Linked DNA regions of Homo sapiens: region 1 is linked to region 2. Evidence: promoter capture Hi-C in human tissues and cell types (Jung and others, 2019). All regions are on one chromosome and are shown on one strand. The core of a region is centred on a gene start or on the middle of the fragment in contact, and the rest is flanking DNA. Distances in the headings are between cores, read along the strand shown.

Region 1 (2,945 bases), core at 446-2,945, 190 kb before region 2:
AGAACCATCATGTTAAACTACTCCCAAATTCTTAACCCACAGAAACTGACAGATAATGTTTACTATTTTAACATACTAAATTTAGGGTAATTTTTTACACAGCAATAGATAACTAATACAGGTGGAAGGACAAAACTCTTGGCTTGGAAGCCCAATACCTAGAAAGCCAGCTTCTCTGTATCTGTGCCCTTGAAAATGCTGTACCTATTTAAACAGAATATGAGAACTGCTGAACTCAATAAACCACACTAAAAAGAAGACAGAATCATGACAATGCATGTCTGCTGTTGGAATTTGAAGGGAAGTCACTTCTCATTAAGCTCGATTGTCCGCCCAAGTATAGAAGCATGGGTTCCTCATAAAAAGAAAACTACAAATGGTCACTAAGATGTTAAGAGCTGTCTCAAAGTGGTAACTTAAGAGTGCTCCTTCTCTCTAAAAAACCCCGGACACATTATTCATTAAGGGTTTCATCTGTGAGGTTCCCTCCAAACATGCAGAGGTAAACCACTCAATGGACTCTGGCTTGTTCTAAAAATAATTCCATGAGGCATGACACAAAGGTATCATCTATTGAAAGTTTATCTCATGCCTTGTGAAATTATTTTTTAAATGCCAATTTATCTCCATAAGATAAAAGAAAGACTGTCTAGTAGTGGTGGCCTCTGGGAAAGAACTGCACCAAGCTGTAAGGAAGTCCTTGCAGAGAAGGGTAAGGGATTGAACAGCTGCTGCATTATACAGCTGACACTCCCAAGAAATACTAAAAACATGCCTTCTGATTAGGGGGTCACATGCAGAAGCTCCCCAAGACAGCAAGAAAAAGGAAAATGGCATCTTGATACTACTAAAGCTCATGCTTTAAATCCATTCCTCACCGTTCAGTGAGGAAGCCAAGTTTTCACACATAGCAATAAAGATCAAGAAGAGTTCACTCTTCTGCTCACTGACAGACTGACTAGCTGCTAGTTGGGTCAAATTCCACAGGATGCCAAGGCCAGTGTATGAAGAATGAAAAGCTTCATTCCCAAAGAATCAGGCTCCCCGGGGTACAAAGAGGTCCTGAGCATGCTTCTTATGTAAATTACAGAGCAACTTAGGTTTTTCCAAGAATATGTAAAATGAGACTTGGAGTTTAATTAAAAACAGAACAGGGATACATTAAACAAACAAACAAAAATTACTTTTCTGATTATCAATTTTTTTTGAGACTCAAAGCATCCCCAAAACATTGGAGATCCAGCTTATTCCTGAGACATCAACCATCACAAAAGGTTTTCACTCTGAACTATTCACATTTTTGTGGCAGAAAACAGAACAAAGTTCTGCAGACATCCTTCCTCTCTTTCTAAAATATATTCACAAACAGGGTCTTTTCATAGTTCAAAAGAAAAACAAACAGGTTTCTTTCTTGGCCAAATGGCCTGTTACTCTCACCCTGGGATCTGATTTCTTAATAAAAAAGTTCAGGGCACCAAATCCAACCAGAAATTCCCAGGACACCAGTGGCTACTTAACTATGAGGGGATGGATGCTTTTGTCTTTCTATGAGGGGAATCATTCTCCCGGGATTATTATGCTGCTCAACAGCCCCAGGACAGGTAGGTGGGAAGGAGGGTGAATGCAAAAGCGAAAGGGTCACAGAAAAGAATGAGGCTTTCTTGAACAACCCATAGCAAGGCAGAATGGTCCAGTTTTACAAACCACCCACTACAAACTCCAAACATGCACACCCAAAACTAGAGGGGAAAGGAAAGAGCTCCTGGGGGACTAGGGGAGACAAAAGATGGTGACATAGAACAGCAGACTTGCCTATGAACGTTTCTCAACTTCCTAACACTGGAAGATGTTTAATTAAAAAGTTGCTGTTCAAAATTGTACTGAAAACATATCTAAAAATAGGTCTGTAGTCATCTTAAAAATAAAAGGTCACTTCTCAGATAAGAGGAGTGACAGATATTCTCAGATACCAACACTTCAGGTATCTTTGATGTAAATTTGAAAAATGGCCTGGTAGAGAAAAAGGAAGGAAAGGAAGGAGAGAGGAAGAAAGTGAGGGAGGTAGGGAGAGAAATTCAGAGTACAACAGGAAAGGCAAGAAAACTGGGAGGAACACATTTTTTAAGCCCATGCTTATCTATCCCAGCAGCCAAACAAAGCAGATCCACAAAGGAAAAAAATGCAGTTCTTTTCTAAGAACATTCTGAAAATCAACTTCAAACTCAAAACATAAGAAACTGCAATCTAAGAACAACTACCACAATGCTCACTGGACTTAAAAATGACGACTGAGACCGGGTACTCAAATGGGTCAACGTTCTTCAGCGGTCATTCTTAGGCATTATCTGACAGAATACTATGATCAGGCCTTACCCACCAAGTGGAAGCTAAAGTGCCTCTATTACTTGGTATGGACCTGCTCTAGGAGCAGACAAAATCACTTTGCTTTCTTGAAGTACAAGAGGACTCTGCCAGCAACGAGATGCAAGCAGGGAGGAGTGGCAGAAGAAGAGCAAAACTGGTTACCAAGGGCTCTCTTCTGATGTACAGAGTTAAAAATATCTGCACAAATGCACTAAGTAAAAGAATGGGAAGATGAACTATAATACCAAAGACAGAAGACATTCCTCCCAGAGGAAAGAAAGGAAGTGGACCTCAAAACAGTGTCACAGGGTAACGCTACCAGAGTTGCACAAGCTGTGCTCTGTCCCGAGGGACGAATACCTCAAGGTAAAAGGGAAAGCAGCTCTCTTTTTATCATTTCCCCCTGCTGGTTTTAAAGACCCCAAGCCCAGACTCTTGCAACACTGAACCATAGGTGGGATACAGGGAGGAGAGACAGAGGGTAAGGAATATGAATGGTGTTAGGCCCACCAAGCTCTGTATCCCTTCCCCAGACTTCCCAGCCAGGCAGTTGTTGGTAGGTTGATATTTGATTTGGGACA
Region 2 (5,301 bases), core at 1,146-3,645:
CTGGGAGGTGGAGGTTGCAGTGAGCCGAAATCACACCACTGTACTCCAGCCTGGGTGACAGAGTGAGACTCTGTCTCAAAAAAGAAAAAAAAAAAAAAGAAGAGAATGTAGTCGCAAGCCAAAGAAGGAAATTAGAGACACCCAACAGGGTCACCCACAGCAAAGGGGACAGGATATGGACTGAAAAGTGCCACTAGATTTGGTCACTGAGTGAGAAAGATAATATTTGAGAAGAGATGGACTCCTTCTTTGTCAAACTAATGTACTTAAGAAGGTATTTTCCACCTTTACATTAATTCCTCTACCTATCCGTCCAGCAAAGATTCACTAAACATCTACTCTAGGCTGTGTACTGTGCTAGGCCCTAGGGAGACATGGTAGACCAAGGTCCTTTTGGGCCTATGGGCTCACTACACTTGCCTGCAAAGGAAAGTTACAATTCACCAGGGCTGGGTGTTTTACCAGACCTGATAATGACTGGCTCTCTGAATACATTCGATGAAACAAGAGCCAGTGTGCAAGTCTGGAGGTCAGTGAGACTTTATTATCTTGCTCTGAGCTGGCAGGAGGCAAAGGGAAAGTGTATGTAGAACATTATTATTGCATCACTGCTGTCTTCTTAAGTCAGTCACAGATGAGAGTCTGGGTTTTTCCAAGAAAATTGGTTCCATCTGCTCAAAGGCAGAAAAGTGATAGAGCAGTTCAATCAAAAGAGCATCCCCTTAAAATATTCTTTGAACTTGATCCTACTTTTTTTTCTGAAACAGAGTCTCGCTCTGTCACCCAGGCTGGAATGCACTGGCGTGATCTCAACTCACCGCAACCTCCGCCTCTCGGGATCAAGTGTTCTCCTGCCTCAGTCTCCCGAGTAGCTGGGATTACAGGCGCGTGCAACCACGCCCAGCTAATTTTTGTATTTTTACTAGGGACAGGGTTTCACTGTGTTGGCCAGGCTGGTTTCCAACTCCTGACGTCGGGTAATCCGCCCACCTCGGCCTCCCAAAGTGCTGGGATTGAAGGCGTAAGTCACCGCGCCTGGCCTTGACCCTAATTATTGACTAAACTATTGCTTCGCTAATTTTTTTTCCTGCCCTTCTGTTTTAACAGCAGTAAAACAGTGTGGTGAAATGTTCAAAAAATCAGTGAATCACAGCCTTCTGAAAATTAATGGGTGTCAGTGAGGTTTGGGAGTTGGATGGAGACAAAGGGAGCGACACCATAACTAACTGGAGATCTTACTAGGTTTTCATTTAATATTCATTTTTTACAATAGACATTGTTTGGAAAAAAGGGTTTAATTCAAAATGTCATTAAGGCACATTATCTTTAATGTTCTAGAAAAAGTTATTTAAAGAAATCCTGGCCATGAAATTAAAATAAATAAATAAATAAAACCAGGCATTCTTTGAAATGTGAATAATAATTTGCTAATTTATATTTAGGATTGTGGATATACTTTTTTTCTTTTACATGTATTCCTGGGGAGGTAAGTGATGCAAATATTTTCCCACTGCCTCAATCAGACTTTAGTTTTTGGGGTCTGGCCTGATATGATGGAATATAAACAGGAAATCAAGATCAGAAGAGCCTGTCCCTGAGAACACTCCTTCACGGGACTCTAGCTCACGCCTGGACCTTCCCAGTGCTTCCATCTGAAGCCCCTGGAGACCCAGGTGGGTTAAGTAGGGTGGCAGGGGGGATGGAGGGGGCGGGGGGCGCGGGGGCGTAAATCCTCCCCCACTGGGGAGGGTGACAGTAACAACTTCCAGATTGTTTACAAAGATACAGGCTCTGCTTCAGGCATTTGACGTGTATTAACTCGGGTAATCATCCCAGTAACTCATGAAATAGTTATATTATTATCTTCACTTCCCAGATAAGCAACGGAGTGAGAGAGATTATAGAAAGTGGAGAAGCGAGTACCTTACTAGTAGCCACTAGGGGTGTCAGTAATATGGCTCAACTTTGTTACGACGGATCAGAAAAATGCTCACCTTTAAGACCGCAAGCAGAGCCTGTCTGGGGAAGCAGGTGACTTATCAACGCCTTTTGAGATAAGGAATAGGACTGCGGGGAGGAGTGTGTGAGAATCAAAGGTGAGTTCCCTGTGTGCGTGGTCGGCGGTCAACTCCTAGCTAGTCCAAGCTTAGAGCCTGCGCATTTGCCCTCCCGGGTCAGAGCCCAAAGCCGAAGGAACAGAACCAGCGCCGGCGGCAGCCACGTGGCCCAGCCTCTGAGCCCTAGCTGCCATCGCGGAGGCTGGGCCCGAGGGGCGGGGCTGGGGAGTGCGGACACCCGGGCCTGGCGGAGTGCGCCTGCGCACGGGGTTGGCCCGGCGGGGGTGGGAACACTAGCAGAGCCGCGTTAAAGGCGCTCCCCGCCCCGCCCGCCGGTCCAGTGCTCGCAGTGCGCAGGCGTGGGGCTCTCTCCTTGTCAGTCGGCGCCGCGTGCGGGCTGGTGGCTCTGTGGCAGCGGCGGCGGCAGGACTCCGGCACTATGAGCGGCTTCAGCACCGAGGAGCGCGCCGCGCCCTTCTCCCTGGAGTACCGAGTCTTCCTCAGTGAGTGTCTGCGGCCCGTGGCCCCTCCGCGCCCGTCCGCCCATTCATTCCCGGGCCTTGCCTCCCCGGGAGGGTGCGGCCCGCGCTCGGCCCCAGGTCTCCGACGCGGGCCCGTCTCCTCGGGCGCGTTGTGGGGCCTGGCCGGCCTCACATTGCATACTTGCCGCCGCCGGTCGGGGCGGCGAGGGTCGCCTCCGGCCATCCCTCCCCGCTGAACGGAGATGGTCCCTTTGTCACGCCTCGGGGTACCCGAACCTGGGCCCAGCTAGTTTTGCAGGTGTCTGGCTCTGACAGGGTCTGTTGGGAAAAGGAAATCACCGACCCACCCTAGAAAGGTGCTTGGAAGTAACATAATTCCCGTAAGAGGATTGCTCAGTTTGGAGAAAAGGCGACTCCGGGCCGGGGGGGGCAGTGACTTCCTAAAGACCTTAATTCCGCCGCCGTAGCTCAGATTATCGGCGCTGAGCGGAGCCAAGTCCACCCCCTCGTTTTACAGACGGGAAAACTGAGGCCCGGATCGGGAGCCGTCTGTGAAGGCGCTGGACCGGTCCTCCGCGGCCCGGTCGTGCTCCTGCCTCTGCGCCGCCTGTTTTCCCTCAGCGCCGATGCTGGGAATGCTCCTTATGAAACAGAAAGCTGTTTCCCTCAAATCAAACAGATGACGTCAGTCTGGAAACAAGACTGAGAAAGTGCCAAGTTTTTACCTTTGCAGGATTCGGCGTCTAGGGGGTACCTACCCCGGGTCCTGCACCTAGGGCTGCACGGGGAAACCGGGAGGCTGCATGCTGGCGCCCTCCACGCTCCTTAGGGCACCACGTTTTTTTGGCCTTGTAGGTGGAGGAAAGCTACTTGGGGTTTTTCTTTATCCTCTTACTCCCCCCACCCCCAGCTACTAGGAGTAGATTATGGGCGATAACGGAGGCGTTCGTAAATGTGTCACCACAGGCGCTTCTATTGTAACCTCTTTACAGTTTTATTTGGAAGGAAATGGGCAGGTGCCTCGAACTCTGAGTTGGTGTATGAAGGAAGGGGAAGCGGGGAGTAGAGGAGACGAATGAATAGGCATTGAAGGAACAAAAAGTAGCCTGGTGCGGGAGGAAAAGGAAAGCGAACTGTAAAGCTTACACATCTAGCCAAAGGTTAACTATCAGGTAAAATCCAGGAAGGGTGAGAACTACCCCCCACTCTCCATTTTATTTAATTTTGCAATTAAGCAGCAAGGACAGTCCAGTAACTTTTGACTAATAATTCATGGGACTGTTTTTCTGGAAATAGTGTTGGCTCCAGAATTTCTCTGTAGGAAAGGCTTACAGAGGTGACTGTCTGGTTTGAAGGTGAGGGGTGGATCTTCAAGCTATATATGCAGAACAAACACACTGCTTTTACTTAGGTTATTTATTTGCAATTAATATTTGGTGGCCGTTATGGGAGACCAAAGCTACTCCTAGAATTTGGCACTAGCTGAAGTAACTGTTTTTATCAAGTGGAACTCTCTGGAACTTAAGAAATACTAATAATTAGAACCCACTACATAGTTATCCAATTTTAAGTGCTTTATCCTTCCTTAATAGAAATAAACTTTTTTAAGCTTTATAATATTACATTTGTCAATTTCTTTAAAACTGATAAAGGGCTGGACAGACTGCAAAGTCACAATTGGCCCTAAAGGGACTTTTATGTTTTATTGTTTGTTTTTTGAAACAAAGTCTCGCTCTGTTGCCCAGGCTGGAGTGCAGTGGCATGATCTTGGCTCATTGCAACTTCAGCCTCCCGGGTTCAAGTGATTCTCCTGCCTCAGCCTCCCAAGTAGCTGGGATTACAGGCACTTGCCACCATGCCTGACTAATTTTTGTATTTTTAGTAGAGACGGGGTTTCACCATGTTGGCCAGGCTGGTCTTGAACTCCTTACCTCCAGTGATCCACCTGCTTTGGCCTTCCAAAGTGCTGGGATTACAGGCGTGAGCCACCGTGCCTGGCCTCCACTTTGATTTTTAAACTTGAAGGGATGCGATGTGGACAGTAGGTTTCCTAAAGAATACTGAAGAAGTTTTAAAATTACTTTTTGGCTATAGTTAGGCCTCTAGAATATATTAGTAATATATATCTAGAATATAATAGAAATTATTTGTGAAGATGTTTGTTGCAACTTGATTATCCTTAAAGAAAGTCATAATCTAAGATGGCTGGCTGTCTCTGGGAACACCACTTTTAGCAACATTGTTTAGTAAAGTGGTCCCCTCCCTTCCTCCCAAGTACTTCATAATGGTTCTGTAAACTTAACTGATGTAAGATCAGTCCAAAACAATTTAATCGCCTTTTGTGTCCTCAGTAGTCTCTGCTCTCACTATAGAGATTAGTACTTATTAGATGCCTACAGAGTGCATAGGATGTAAACCCAGCCTAGCCTGGGAGTACAGTCAGGAGAAGTGAAGTATACAAACAGTTTTTCTAGTGTAAGAATAATATCTTGGTTTAAAAATGTGTACTGGTCGGGTGCAGGGTGCGGTGGCTCACCCCTGTAATTCCAGCCCTTTGGGAGGCTGAGGTGGGCAGACTGCTTTGAGCTCAGGAGTTGGAGACCAGCCTGGGGAACATGGCAACACCACCTCCCTACAAAAGACACAAAAATTAGCCAGACGTAGTGGCTCATGCCTGTAGTTCCAGCGGCTCAGGAGGCTGAGGCTGGAGGATCACTTGAGCCTTCAAGAGGGAAACAGAAGTGGCAGTGAGCCAAGATCAC

The links. The method cuts DNA at HindIII sites, captures the fragments that hold promoters and counts their contacts. A contact is called where the count stands out against the background at its distance.
Region 1: a contact is called between a fragment that was not itself captured here and the fragment with the promoter of PPA1 in region 2, in 1 of the 25 tissues and cell types used here (thymus).

Annotation. Positions count from the first base shown.
Region 1 is chr10:70,422,087-70,425,031 of GRCh38, reverse strand. It overlaps EIF4EBP2 (eukaryotic translation initiation factor 4E binding protein 2), which reads right to left. Exons shown (of 3, transcript NM_004096.5): 3 at 1-2,945. Among named protein-coding and RNA genes, the nearest start is that of NODAL, 18 kb to the left of the region's middle. The HindIII fragment of the contact is 4,938 bases long and covers 1-2,945 here.
Region 2 is chr10:70,230,523-70,235,823 of GRCh38, reverse strand. It overlaps PPA1 (inorganic pyrophosphatase 1), which reads left to right and starts at 2,395. Exons shown (of 11, transcript NM_021129.4): 1 at 2,395-2,560. The coding sequence starts at 2,497. RefSeq lists a silencer at 2,184-2,753. The HindIII fragment of the contact is 11,213 bases long and covers 1-2,913 here.